Linked DNA regions of Homo sapiens: all the other regions are linked to region 1. The links are contacts of gene promoters, found by promoter capture Hi-C in blood cells and fetal thymus (Javierre and others, 2016). All regions are on one chromosome and are shown on one strand. Each heading gives the region's core, a stretch centred on a gene start or on the middle of the fragment in contact. The rest is flanking DNA. Distances are from core to core; before and after follow the strand shown.

Evidence for each region. Contacts are between HindIII fragments. The CHiCAGO score rates a contact against its expected background, and 5 or more counts as called.
Region 2: a contact is called between a fragment that was not itself captured here and the fragment with the promoter of CHSY1 in region 1, in 3 of 17 cell types (M0 macrophages, M2 macrophages and endothelial precursors). The highest score is 7.5, in M0 macrophages.
Region 3: a fragment that was not itself captured here is called in contact with the fragment with the promoter of CHSY1 in region 1 in 3 of 17 cell types (M2 macrophages, M0 macrophages and endothelial precursors); the score reaches 6.4 in M2 macrophages.

Annotation. Positions count from the first base shown.
Region 1 is chr15:101,249,408-101,254,342 of GRCh38, reverse strand. It overlaps CHSY1 (chondroitin sulfate synthase 1), which reads left to right and starts at 2,295. Exons shown (of 3, transcript NM_014918.5): 1 at 2,295-3,206. The coding sequence starts at 2,887. RefSeq lists silencers at 1,831-2,210, 2,381-2,690, 2,881-3,310. The HindIII fragment of the contact is 7,881 bases long and covers 1-3,495 here.
Region 2 is chr15:100,985,100-100,990,077 of GRCh38, reverse strand. LRRK1 (leucine rich repeat kinase 1) reads right to left here. Exons shown (of 34, transcript NM_024652.6): 5 at 1,265-1,444; 6 at 680-828. Among named protein-coding and RNA genes, the nearest start is that of LRRK1, 68 kb to the right of the region's middle. The HindIII fragment of the contact is 704 bases long and covers 2,535-3,238 here.
Region 3 is chr15:100,968,360-100,972,980 of GRCh38, reverse strand. All of the region lies in intron 2 of LRRK1 (leucine rich repeat kinase 1), which reads right to left. Among named protein-coding and RNA genes, the nearest start is that of LRRK1, 51 kb to the right of the region's middle. The HindIII fragment of the contact is 3,416 bases long and covers 137-3,552 here.

The sequences.
Region 1 (4,935 bases), core at 1,046-3,545:
CTTAGGATAGCCTTGTCTCCTGAGCCAGGCCCCTTACTGGGACACTTTTGGATTCTTCCCCAGGAGAACTGCCTCAGCTCAACAATCCAGCTGCTCCTTCCAGATGTGCTAGAGCTTGCCCTCCTGCTCCTAGGCTGCATGCCGGAATTGGTCCCTGCCCCTGGCAGACTTCTACAGGACCTCAGTTTCTCTCTTCTCCTTCCAACCCTCTCTTGGCCTGGCATATCCCTCTTCTCCCAGAGGGAGTTCCCGTATGTCTTACTCTCCTTCTCCAGGGAATTGTAAGCCCTCAGGCTCAGCCTTTACAAAGAAAAGGGTATCCTTTCTACATTACGAAAGACCCCCATTAAGCCTGCAGGTGAGACAGGTGAGACTGTTAACCTAGGAACTGAGGGACAACTAGGAACCAGGATATTGAGGAGGACAAAATATTTGGCATCCTCAGAATATTATTCCCATCAGATATTTATATACTTTTTTTTTTTTTTTCCTTGAGACGGAGTTTCGCTGTTGTCGCCCAGGCTGCAGTGCAATGCAATGGCACGATCTCGGCTCACAGCAACCTCCACCTCCCGGGTTCAAGCGATTCTCCTGCCTCAGCCTCCCGAGTAGCTGGGATTACAGGCATGCACCACCACCCCCGGCTAATTTTGTATTTTTAGTAGAGTCGGGGTTTCTCCATGTTGGTCAGGTTGGTCTCGAACTCCTGACCTCAGGCGATCCGCCCGCCTCAGCCTCCCAGAGTGCTGGGTTTACAGGCGTGAGCCACCGCGCCCGGCCAGCTTTTCACTGGACACTAGTTTCGAAGAAAACTAGGTAAGTCTAAAGCAGGTTAGAAAATACTGAAATCGTTGAATATGCTACAAAATTGAACATCTGAATCTGGCCAGATTCGTACTTCATGTAAATCACTGTGAATGATGGGGCTGCTGAATTTGGGGGATCTGGTGACTCCTCGGCATTTGTGGTTTATGGTCTTAGTGGAAACCTTTTTCGATGGTTTTCGAGCCTGTAATTCATGGTTGTATGTTCTGTATTTTTCCCAAGACCACTGCTGGAATCCTGTATTCACTGCATAATGAGTATTTTATTTTTAGATGTGGATCACCCCTTAGGGAGGGGCTCTGTGGGAAGGTAGGTAATGAACTATTTTTAATATAAATCACAAGTGTCAAAGAAAGTGGTAATATCCAAAGAATAAACAAGAGTGACCACCATTCAGGTGCCGAGAAGGTATCTGAAGCTCCCACAGGCATTTTAAACTGTGTGATAGTATTTCAACCATTTGGTCAACAATGAAGAAAGATCCAAGGATTGCCCCAGGCATGTGTTTATTTGATTCAATGCAGGTAACTTCTCAGGCCCAGGGAAACACTTTGCCCTTCAAAAGTTTCATTAGAAAACCCCAATATACTGGTGACTAAGTAACAAGACTGAAACTCTACACAAACTTTCGTTGTATGGAGACCTCCGCTTTTGCTGCCTTAGCTGAAGTATTGCAGAGGAAATGTATAAAACTTAAAATCCAGAGTAGAGGATCTGGGACCCAAAATCCGTCTTTAGAAATCCACGGCACTTTTACAGACGGACTATATTAAAGTAGGGACAAAGTCCCAGGCTGGGGGTACTAGCCGGCTATCTGCCCACACAGTATGTAAATGAAAGTAGGGTTTACCATCCAGGGCATTAACTTCATTTTCCTTGTCTTCGAGATCCATTAAATGCTAGTACTGTATGAGAAGCGTGGACCTTAAGTATTAAAGATGGCTTTTTCTTCTTCTTCTTCTTATTTAGCGTAGAAACTAGCAACAGGGAACAAGGTAACTGAATTCACGGTCCACTCGCAGGCGCGCACGTCCCCAGGGCTCCGGGACGGCTGTTCCCTGCGTGCGGCCGCGGGACTGCGGACAAAGCTGCAGTGTGGTCGGGAGCGCGGGGCCGGGAGCGCGGGGCCGGCCCGGCGGCAGGAAGGGCGTGGCCGTGGGGTGCAGCGAGGACGGCCCGTGCGGGAGGAACGTGCGCAGCGTGGAGTCTGGGGGCCGAGAAGCCCCCACTGCAAGGCTGGCTCCCGAGATTCGCGCCCGGGCGCCGCGGTGCGGGAAGCGGCCGTCCTCGCGGGGACGCCCTTGCGCCGGGTGCTAGGTGCGGATCACGGGCAGCTCCGGCCCCGCGGGCGCCGGGCGGGGGCCCACGCCCCCTCCGCCCGCCAGCTCCAGTCGCAGACCGCGCGGGCGGGGCGCCCGAGAGGGCTTTTTTTTTTTTTGGTCAAACTTCGGCCACGTGAACCGCCCCTCATTCACTTTTGCGCCAATCGCGCGGCGCGGACGGATCCCGAGAGGGGCCACGGCTCGCCGCCGGCGGGGCCACTTCATAACGCGCCGTGCGTGACGTGAGGGGCTCCTGTTGCAATGGCGAGCTAAGCCGGAGGATGTGCAGCTGCGGCGGCGGCGCCGGCTACGAAGAGGACGGGGACAGGCGCCGTGCGAACCGAGCCCAGCCAGCCGGAGGACGCGGGCAGGGCGGGACGGGAGCCCGGACTCGTCTGCCGCCGCCGTCGTCGCCGTCGTGCCGGCCCCGCGTCCCCGCGCGCGAGCGGGAGGAGCCGCCGCCACCTCGCGCCCGAGCCGCCGCTAGCGCGCGCCGGGCATGGTCCCCTCTTAAAGGCGCAGGCCGCGGCGGCGGGGGCGGGCGTGCGGAACAAAGCGCCGGCGCGGGGCCTGCGGGCGGCTCGGGGGCCGCGATGGGCGCGGCGGGCCCGCGGCGGCGGCGGCGCTGCCCGGGCCGGGCCTCGCGGCGCTAGGGCGGGCTGGCCTCCGCGGGCGGGGGCAGCGGGCTGAGGGCGCGCGGAGCCTGCGGCGGCGGCCCGGCGGGCGGAGCGGCGCGGGCATGGCCGCGCGCGGCCGGCGCGCCTGGCTCAGCGTGCTGCTCGGGCTCGTCCTGGGCTTCGTGCTGGCCTCGCGGCTCGTCCTGCCCCGGGCTTCCGAGCTGAAGCGAGCGGGCCCACGGCGCCGCGCCAGCCCCGAGGGCTGCCGGTCCGGGCAGGCGGCGGCTTCCCAGGCCGGCGGGGCGCGCGGCGATGCGCGCGGGGCGCAGCTCTGGCCGCCCGGCTCGGACCCAGATGGCGGCCCGCGCGACAGGAACTTTCTCTTCGTGGGAGTCATGACCGCCCAGAAATACCTGCAGACTCGGGCCGTGGCCGCCTACAGGTGAGCCCCTGCTCCCCGGGCACCGCCTCCTGCGTCCGGCATCCCGGCGGCCGGCATCCCGGGTGCTCTCCTGGCTCTCGCCTCCGCCCGCTTCCTAGGCCCTTCTTGGGCTTCCGGCGGGATCGGGTTGCCTCTCGGGAGACGCCGGGCCGAGGGAGAAAAGATCAGAGGCGGGATGGTGAGCGCGGCGCTCAGGAACATGGCCTTTGGGGTCAGATGGACTAGTGTGGCCTCGCTGGGTGTACCTCTCACCCTGATGAAGGCACTTTAGCCTTTGCAAATCGAAGCTTCTCGTTAGAAGGGCCCGACAGATCGGGTCTCCCTCATAATGTTGGAAAACTCATAGCACAGTACCTGATAGTGGAGGCAGTTGGGGCTGATACTGGATTCCCTAAAATGTGCACCTTTGTCCTTGCAAAGCTGGAGCCCGTGTACGTTAATCTAGTTCTAGAACCTTTCCACATCATACTCTCACATTTCGCAGTTGGAGGCACTCCTATAAATGAAAGAGAATGCCCGCAGCATATTGGACCACACCAGTCTGTTGAGTACAGAGAGAGAGAACCTTGGGGAAAAGCAGTTCTTGGCCCTTGGTAGATTCAGTGGAAAACTGCATTCTGGTGTTAATTAGTTCAGCTTGGTGGTGTATGCATGTTATCCAGTAACTGGGCTCTAGTTGGCCAAATGAGTCATAAAAGCAGCTGGAATTGTGTTCAGGTTTAACAAAGGGATTAGCCAATGTAGTCTCTAGAAGGGAGATGATTTTGGAATGGCTGGCATGGTTAGAATCAGATTTGTATTGGAGTGAATTTGAAGTTGGAGAGGGTTGTAGACTCGATAAAGGGATTTGATGGAAACCCTATATGTGTGAAGTATAGAGACACTTACTGTATGGATAAAGTTTGGGTCTTATCCAGCCACAGAGCAAACCAATGTGGGGAATGGTTTTAGAGCATCAGTTGTCTGGTAATGAAATTTCAGAGCAGCCAGTGCTGAGCCAGGCTAAGCTGGTTGCTGTTTGTTCTTATAACCAATACCTTTACACTTCAGTTTTTAAATGCAGTCTTGGTCAGATTTTTCAGGCACTAGATGTTGTGAGGGGAAAAGCATATATGGTCTCCCTTGCCTTTAAGGGAGAAAGTAAAGGACTGAGAAAGAAGGTGAAAGTGGTCTTCAGTGACTGCCCCTTGAATGGCTTGATCCCCATTCCTGCACATTTCCATTAGGGTCCTGCTTAAGTCCAGAACCCACATTCCGCCAGGAAGGGTCCTGAGTGGCTTGAAAAGCTTAGAATGCAGGTATTGTAAATACAGACTAATGCAGGCGGGGCGCCGTGGCTCACGCCTGTAATTCTAGCACTTTGGGAGGCCGAGGCGGGCGGATCGCCTGAGGTCAGGAGTTCGACACCAGCCTGACCAATATGGTGAAACCCCGTCTCTACTCAAGAGTACAAAAATTAGCCGGGTGTGGTGGCGTGCACCTGTAGTCCCAGCCACTCAGGAGGCTGAGGCAGGAGAATCGCTTGAACCCAGGAGGCGGAGGTTGCAATGAGCCAAGATCATGCCACTGCACTCCAGCCTGGGCTACAGAGTGAGACTCCATCTCAAAAAAAAAAAAAAAAAAAAATTCTATCTATCGATCGATAGATAGAGATACATAGACTAGTGCAGTGATTTGGGAACCAGCCTATCAGGATCTCTCCCAGATCTACCTTGCATTACCTGAGGTT
Region 2 (4,978 bases), core at 1,637-4,136, 260 kb after region 1:
GGATGTGAAAAGATCCCTACCAGGTTGTTAAACTATTTACTTCAAGGGCAGAAGATTCATAATTTTGATTACCACTCTCAATTGTGATCACTTGTTATAACAATCATTCATAACTTTAGTAATTTTAAAATTTAACACATAAAAATTTAAAAAAGAAATATGTTAAATATGATATATTTAACCAATTTTTGAAAAAAGGAAAAGAGAAAAAAAACAACCAAAAAAAACCAGAAACAAAAACAAAAACTCTGGGAGGGGGATGAAGCCCAGATTTCAGCTCCCACCCTGCTATAGCTTGAATGTCCCCTTCAAAACTCATGATGAAATGTAATTGCTGTTGTGATAAGGATGGGACCATTAAGAGGTGATTAGGCCAAGAAGGCCCCACCCTCATAAATGGATTGATGTTGTTATTGTGGAAGTGGGTTTGTTATTTTGAGGGTGGGTTGTTATAAAAGTGAGTTCTTCCCTCTCTCAGTCTGTTGGTCTCTTGCCCTCCACCTTCATATCACTGCATGAAGGCCCTCACCAGATACCAGCACTATGCTCTTGGACTTCTCAATCTCCAGACCTGTAAGCCAAATATATTTCTGTTTATTATAAATTACCCAGTCTGCAGGATTCTGTTACAGCAGCACAAAAGGAACTAAAACACACTCCACAGGCAGTGACTACTCACTGTTTTTCCCGGATAACTGCTGGGCAAGGGACTGGCTTCAATGAAGTACTTTCTCAGCAGATGTTTGCTGGGGTCAGGACTATCCAGCAAGATGTAGGAACAGAAATAGGCCCCATGCCGAAGCAGGAATATTGCAATGTCTTCATTCCCTAAAGGAACAAAACCAAAAAGCTAAGGGCATGCAGATGCTAGTGTCACAGTCGTTGGAAGGGCAGACTCTGATATGTGGAATGGAAACTGAAAAGGTACTTGTGCATGTTGGACTTCTCTATTTACTTCCCTTGGTGCATCAAGTTTCTGTTAGTGGGAGAATTTCTGTGGGGCTTTGCCCTTTGGAGTGCCTCGTACAACAGTCCCATTAGCCACAGTCAGTCTCTGTCACTGAAATCCCCTTGCGGGGGCAAGTAAGGAGGAAATGAGGAAGGGTGCAGATATTTTGAAAAAGAAACATAGAACAGGAGTTGCAAAAGTCTCCTCACAGAGGTGATTTGAGAGCCAAGAGTGAGAATAAAGACACAGTCCCACATCTGGAGGCTGAGATGGTTTGCACGGTCAGGGTTGACTCAGGGTAGTGGGGAAACCCACCTGACTTGATGGCCGCATACAGGGGCAAGCGCACGATGACAGGGAACTCATTCTTCCTGACAGCGTAGCTCTCCGGGTCAGCCCCGTGCGTCAGGACCAGGAGCTTCACAACCCCCAGGTGCCCTCGCTGGCAAGCCAAGGCCAGCATCCAGTTCAGAAGCCGCTGGGGACTGCAGGGACCTGGCAGGAGATGGCAGGACAAAGGGAAAGTGCCACTGAAGGGTGCTGTTTGTTCCCACTCTGCTCTTCCCTTAGACCGCTAGTAGCAATGGACTGGTTAAATAAAATGTGGTACATTTGCACCATGGAATACTATACAGCCATAAAAAAGAATGAGATCATGTACTTTGCAGCATCATGGATGGAGCTGGAGGTCATTATCCTAAGTGAACTAACGCAACAACAGAAAACCAAATACTGCATGTTATCACTTATAAGGGGGAGCTAAACATTGAATGCACGTGGACACAAAGAAGGGAACAATAGACACTGGGGACTACTTGATGGTGGAGGGAGGGAAAAGGGGGAAGGTTAAAAAATTACCTATTGAGTCCCATGCTTATTACCCAGGTGACGAAATAATCTGCATACCGAACCCCGGCAACATGCAGTTTACCCACGTAACAAACCTGCATATGTACCCCTGAACCTAAAGTAAAAGTTAAACAAAACAAAACAAAACCCAGCTGTCCTGTTTCCAGCTGAAAGTTGCTTCTGTTGAGTTGATAGTGTTTTCTGGAATAGTCTCTCTGAATTGCATATGACATTTCCCCACATCAGTCACCCACCTGCTTGTCAGATAATGCCGAGTGATGAAATGGAGGATTAAAAATGGCGTATCCAGCATGATCTTAGCCAAATAAAAAATGGGTGTGTGGAAATAAGACTAGAAACAACTACCCCAGCATTGTGGTATTTTCTCTGGGCTCTCCCCTGCCCTCACCCCTCCCCTAGGGTAACATTACATGCAGGAGTATGAACTTTGGAGACAGGCATTTTAGAAATAAAATAATTTAGTATGTAATTTTGGACACATTTCTTAATCTCTCTCTGTTTCAGTTTGCCTGTTGGTAAAATCGGAATAATAATACTCATTCTTCCAAGTTTAATGTGAGGACTACATCACAAAATGCATGTCAAGTGCCTGGATCAATAAACCCTAACTCATGATGTTGTGTCATTGTATTATTAAAGTACTGACACTTTCCCACATTTTAAAATTATCTATAATATACATATATTACTTTCATGAATAATAATAATAAAAGCTTTGGTGAAAGATCTGTCAGGCCTAAAAGTGACAATTTCTCCCCAGTAGAACCACCTACTTAATTCCAGGATGAAATAACACTTAGCACATTGAATTGACGGGGGCAGTGTGGGCTGAAATGTTACAATATCTTCAAGTTCAAAATAGTGCAATATCTTTTGGGTCTAGTTGCCATGGAAAAATGACCTCATCTTCTGCAGGGACACTTCCCAAATGCATCATAACACTGCCTCATTTCCAGAGGCACATAGTCCTAGGGATCAAAGTGCTCCCAAGTGAGGAGAGAGTGACTCTCTCCTTCGCGACAGGACATTGATCAGGAAACCGGGGTCAGGATGGCCCTGTATTCACCAAATAAAGCATGTAGCATAGGGCTGAGGCTGGAGCCAGTGCCAAGTAAATATCCCTTCTTCTCCCTCTACTGTTAACCAGAATTAATGATTTGTAGGTATGTTAACAGAAAATAAGTGACCCCTAATCCACTTACACAAGAATATCTGGGTAAGAGAAACACAGTAACCATGCTAGTAACTTCTGTTGAGATGGGGATGTGTCAGTCTTTGGAGGCAGGCATTATATTTCAGGACCATGATTTTAAGATGAGGAAACCAAAGCTCAGAGAGGTTTGGAAATGTAGGAGATTGGTCAGAGTCGTAGGAAAAACTACAGGGAAAGGACACAAACCTTCTGAAAGTTTGGAAGCTTCTGCAGAGCCCTGGGGGAGAACAGCTGAAGGCAGAGGGCAAGGAGTGTAGGGGAATGTATCTTAAACAGGCTTGTTTACTTATGTTGACCAGGAACTGACCTTTGATCATCTGCTGGCTTGATGTTCCCTGAAAGGGGAACAATAAATGTTAATTACCTACAGGTTGTGTTGGCTCCAGGTTTTCGGCATTGTGCCTGCACTGAATGAAAGCAAGCAGCTCTAGCTTCTTCGGGCTGCTCTCTGGCCAACAGAGCCAGGCAGTGACTCAGCTGCTCTTACACCGTACACCTGTGTCTGAGTACTCATTTCATCCATCAGCCAGGGTCTGTGGGACACACCTGGCAGGGAAACTTCTTGAAGGTCCCACAGTTAGTAAATAGCAAGGTCAAGACTTAAACCTTGCTTTGTCTAAAATCAAAGGGTGCTCTCTTAACCACACAAAACCCCTACAGGTACTCTCTACAGCCTAAGGCCAACGACACTCAGAGGAGCCCCTCTTCCTCCCTGCTCAGCTTCAGAGACCAGGAATCACATAACAACGTGCTTCAAAGAATGCATCCCATCAACCTCTCATCCCTCTTCTTCTCAAACCCTCCTTTGTTCTCTAGCTGCTTCTTGTTTTTGTTTTTTGTTTGAGACAGGGTCTCCTTCTATCTCAGCCTGGAGTGCAGTAATGTGATCATAGCTGACTGCAGCCTTGGACTCCTGGGCTTAAGCCATTCTCCCACTTCACCCTCCCAAGTACCTGGGAATATAGGCATGTGCCACCATGCCTGGTTAATTTAAATTTTTTTTTTTTTTTGTAGATACAGGGTCTCACTATGTTACCCAGGCTGGTCATGAAATCCTGGGCTCAAGTGATCCTCTTGCCTTGGCCTCCCAAATTGTTGGGATTACAGGCATGAGCCAGCATGTCCAGCCTGACTCTTGTTTGTCTTCTTGTCTTGACTTACTCCTGACCATGGCTGACTTCCCTTCCAGCTTGGGAACTCCTTTGCAGGAAGTGCAGGGATGGGTACACACTGTTTTGCCCATCTCTGCACTTTCTGCAAAGCCCACCACAATGGTCTGAAATCCTTCAGTCCTCAGCAGCTTTGCTCAGAGTTGAGCTGAAGATACGATGCTCCTGGGAGCAGTTGAAAACCATGACGAGGTTCAGCCACACTTCCTGCTCTGCAAAAGCAGGCAACCCAAGTCCTTCCTTCACTTGTCTGCCAAGTAAACTCCTATTCACTCTGCAAAGCCCAGGTCAGATGTCAGCCTCCCTTCGGAGACCCTACCCTGCCCCCTGATGTGTGCTCCCAGACCTCTGCGTAAAAATACTTCAACCTCAGTGTAGTTACATTGCACAGTGTTACTCCTTTCTGCCTCAATTTCCCCTGCTTGGCCAGGAGGTACTAAATGGCTGGGAAAATCTTTAAAAAAATTATCTGTCTCTCACGTTCTACACAGTTTTCAGCACTTGACAGTATTCAATAAATATTAGCTAACATTAGGTGACGGAGTCAGCTGGTGCAGACTCTTCAGGGCTAGAACAGAGCTAATCTTGGGGCTCCCCGAGAAGAGGCAGGTCAGCCTTTGGCTCCTCAGGAGCACCCAAGCTCCTCTCTGCCCTCCTATGTCTTGTCTTAGTATGCTTCTCATGGGCCCTAAAATTGCCCTGATTTCTGCCCATAACCTCATTCTGTTCAGACACATGAGGGGAACACTAGCTTGGAACCAACGCTGAGCACAGATC
Region 3 (4,621 bases), core at 595-3,094, 280 kb after region 1:
TTCCGAAGTTCCCTGAACACCCTAAAATTGTACACAAAACTGGGTGTGTGTGTGTGTGTGTGTACAGTTTTTCGAGGACAAAATTCAAAGCTTCTACCAGATTTCCAAAGAGGTTAGGGAACAACAGTAAAAAGCTTTCTCTCCATAGGTATTACGGAAAGACTGCGATGGATGAGCAGTTGAATTCTGACTGTGTGGAGTGATAGCAGAAATAGGGAAAGAATACTGTTGTGAAAGGTGACCAAGCAAATTGGGTTATTGTTTTTACACCCAACTAAAACGGAGCTGAGAAGCCAAGAAGAAAAAGCACTCGGGGCATATAACATGACTCCAAAAACATGATTCTCTACAAGTCCGACTACTAAAAATGCCTACCACAACTAAAACCAGTTTTATCTAATAACTACTAAAACGACTTTAAAACTAGCTTTACCCACAACTGTCACTCACCCATCATAACTTGCCAACTCTCCAAAACCTTGCTAATACTAATAAGTTTTCTTGAAAAACACACATAACATTTCTCCTTTTTATTACAAAACTGCCAACCTTCTCTTTATTCTTCAAACATACCAAAACACACACACACACACACACACACACACACACACACACACTCTCTCTCTCTCTCTCTCTCTCTCTCTCATATATATATATATATATCCCAAATTACAATTCTTATATCCCAAGAAAACATTAGATTTTAAAATCCTTTTGAGGCTGGGTGTGGTGGCTTATGCCTGTAATCCCAGCACTTTGGGAGTCCGAGGCAGGCAGATTACTTGAGGTCAGGAGTTCGAGACCAGCCTGGCCAACATGGTGAAACCCCGTCTCTACTGAAGACACAAAAATTAGCCGGGTGTGGTGGCACGCGCCTGTAATCCCAGCTACTCAGGTGGCTGAGGCACGAGGATCACTTGAACCCAGGAGCCTGAGGTAGCAGTGAGCTGAGATCGCACCACTGCACTCCAGCCTGGGTGACAGAGCGAAACTCTGTCTAAAAAAAAAAAAAATTCTTTTGTCATTTGCAACAGCCAGGGATGGAACTGGAGGTCATTATCTTGAGTGAAATAAGCAGGCACAAAAAGACAAACATTCCATGTTCTCACTTATTTGTGGGAGCTAAAAATTTGATCCCATGGAGGCAAAGACTGGAAAAATGGGAAAAACAGCTAACAGAGACTGAGAAGGGTGAGTGTCGGAGCAGGGAGGACGAACAGAAGTGGGTTAAAGGGTACAAGCATACAGTAAGAAGGAATAAATTCAATGTTTGATAGCAGAGTAGGGTGACTATAGTTAACAAAAATGTACTGTATTCAGGTGATGGACACCCTAAATGCCCTGACTGGATCACCACATACTATATACACATAACAAAATGTCACATACACCCCACAAATGTGTACAAATAAAAAATAAAAATAAAAATTCACCTCTACATTTTTATTTTGACTTCAACACTATCATCCTTGGCCAAGTTCACGCAGCCAGTAGAGGCAAACTGGGACAGAAGTTTGGTCTCCCAGCTCTCAAGCTAAACCCAACCCATCTTTGTGCTGCCTCTCTGAAAGGATGAATAAGACAGGCTTTGGATTGATTTTCTTCTTCTTTTTTCTTTTTCTTTTTCTTTTCTTTTTTTTTTTTTTTGAGACACAGTTTCACTCTGCTTCCAAGGCTGGTGTGCAGTGGCGCGATCTCGGCTCACTGCAATCTCCACCTCCCGGGTTCAAGTGATTCTCATGCCTCAACCTCCTGAGTAGCTGGGATTACAGGTGCACGCCACCAAGTCCAGCTAATTTTTGTATTTTTAGTAGAGATGGGGTTTCACCATGTTGGCCAGGCTGGTCTCAAACTCTCGACCTCAAGTGATCCACCCACCTCAGCCTCACAGAGTGCTGGGATTACAGGCGTGAGCCGCTGCGCCTGGCCTTGTTTTTCTTTTTAAATGTAAATGCATAGCACGGTTGGCTCACAAACATACACCTCACAAAAATGAATCACATAATAGCAGTTAACATTGAAAAATTGAAAAAATAGTTTATGATAGTATAAAATTACATTCTTAGAAAAAAATGTAACAAAAGATGGGCAAGATCTGTACGCTGAAAACATAAAACATTGCTGAGAGAAATTGAACAAGACCTAAATAAGTGGGAAGACATCCATCTTCAAGGATTGGAAGAATCAGTACTGTTAAGATGTTAATTCTCTTTGATTTTATCTATAGATTCAATAATCCCAACTATGATTCCAATAGGGTCATTTTTGCGGGATAGAAATTGACAGTCTGATTCTTAAATTTATATGGAAATTTGAAAGACCTAGAATAGCCAAAGCAATCTTGAAAAAGAAGAGAGTTGGAGAATGTACACTACCTGATTTCAAGACTTGGAAAGGATGGAGTTGGAAGCCATTATCCTTCCAAAAAACAAACTACAAAGCTATAGTAATCAAGACAGTATGGTACTGGTATAGACAAATGGCTCCAAGGGACAGAACAGAGGGTTGAAAAATAGACCTGTGCTTGTACATTCAATTGATTTTTGACAAGGGAGCCAAAGCAGTACAATGGGAAAAGCAAAGTCTTTTCAGTAAAAAGTGCTGGAACAACTGGACACCCTCATTTAATAAAAAGCAGCCCTGACCCCTACTTCTCACCATATACAAATATCATCTTGAGATGGCACACACATGTTCATTACAGCACTATTTACAATAGCAAAGTCATGGAATCAACCCAAATGCCCATCAGTGATGGACCGGATAAAGAAAATGTGGTGGCTGGGTGCGGTGGCTCATGCGGTGGCCCATGCCTATAATCCCAGCACTTTGGGAGGCCAAGGCAGGTGGATCACCTGAGGCCAGGAGTACGAGACCAGCCAGGCCAACATGGTGAAACCCCGTCTCTACTAAAAATACAAAAAATTAGCCCAGCGTGGTGGTGGGCACCTGTAATCTCAGCTATTATGAAGGCTGAGGCAGGAGAATCGCTTGAACCTGGGAGGCAGAGGTTGCAGTGAGCTGAGGTAGCACCACTGCACTTCAGCCTAGTCAACAAGAGCAAAACTCTGTCTCAAAAAAAAAAGAAGAAAAAAGCAGAGAAAATATGATACATATATACACCATAGAATACTATGCAGCCATAAAAAGGAATAAGATTATCACTTTGCAGGGACATGGATGGAGTTGGAAGCCATTATCCTCAGCAAGCTAACACAGGAACAGAAAACCAAATACCACATGTTCTCACTTATAAGTGGGAGCTGACCAATGAGAATACATGGAAACAAGAGGGGAACAACACACACTGGGCACCTGTGGTGAGGGAGGGTGGGGAAAGAGCATAAGGAAGAATAGCTAATGGATGCTGGGCTTAATACCTGGCTGATGGGATGATCTGTGCAGTAAATCCCCATGGCACATGTTTACCTATGTAACAAACAAGCACATCCTGCTCATGTACCCCTGAACTTGAAAAAAAAACTTGAAAAAAAAGAAAAAATAACTGAGATGAATCATGGACCTAAACATAAAGGCTAAAACTATGAAGCTTCTAGGAAAACATAGCGGAGATTATCTTCATGACTTGAGAGTAAGTCTTTACTTACTTTCTTACATGGGACACAGAAAACAATAACCAGGAAAGGAAAAATTGCTAAATTAGGCTTCATCAAAATTTAAAACTTCTGCCCCTCAAAAGACCCCATTTAAAGTTAAATAGGCAAATTATAGACTACAATAACGTATTTTCAAAACATATCTGAAAATAAATGGTATCTAGAATATAAAAACTCGTATAACTCCATAATAAAAAGACAAACAATCCAATTGAAAATGAGCAGGCTGGACCTGGTGGCTCACACCTGTAATCCCAGCAATTTGGAAGGCCAAGGTGGGTGTATCCATTGAGCCTAGGAGTTTGAGACCAGTCTGGGAAACAAGTAGACCCTGTCTCTACAAAACATTTTAAAAATTAGCCGGGCATGGTGGTGCACACCTGTAGTCCCAGCTACTCAGGAAGCTGAGATGTAGGAGGATGGCTTGAGCCCAGGAGGTCAAGGCTTCAATGAGCTGTGACTACACCACTGCACTCCACTGGCCTGGGTGACAGAACAAGACCCTGTCTCAAAAAAACAAAACAGAAGGAAGGGAAGGGAAAGGAAGGGAAGGGGAAGGGGAAGGGGAAGGGGAAGGAAAGGGGAAGGAAAGGGGAAGGGAAGGAAGGAAAGAAAGAAAGGAAAAGGGAAGGGAAGGGAAGGGAGGAAGGAAGGAAGGAAGGAAGGAAGGAAAGAAAGAAAGAAAGAAAGAAAAAGAAAGAAAGAAAGAAAAAGAAAAGGAAGAAAGAAAGAGAGAGGGCAAAGATTTAAACAGCAAAAAAATATTCAAAAAGCTCAATGTCATTAGTCATCAGGGAAATGCAAATTAAAACCACAATGAGATACCACTATGCTCTCACCAGAATGGCTAAAACTGTAAGGCCAACACTACTTGGTGAGGACATGGAGCAACCAGAATGTTCATACCTTACTGGCTAGAGTGCAAAATGGTCCAATCACTTTGGAAACAGGTCTGGTGGTTTCTTATAAAACTACATGTATACCTACCCTGTGACCCATAAATT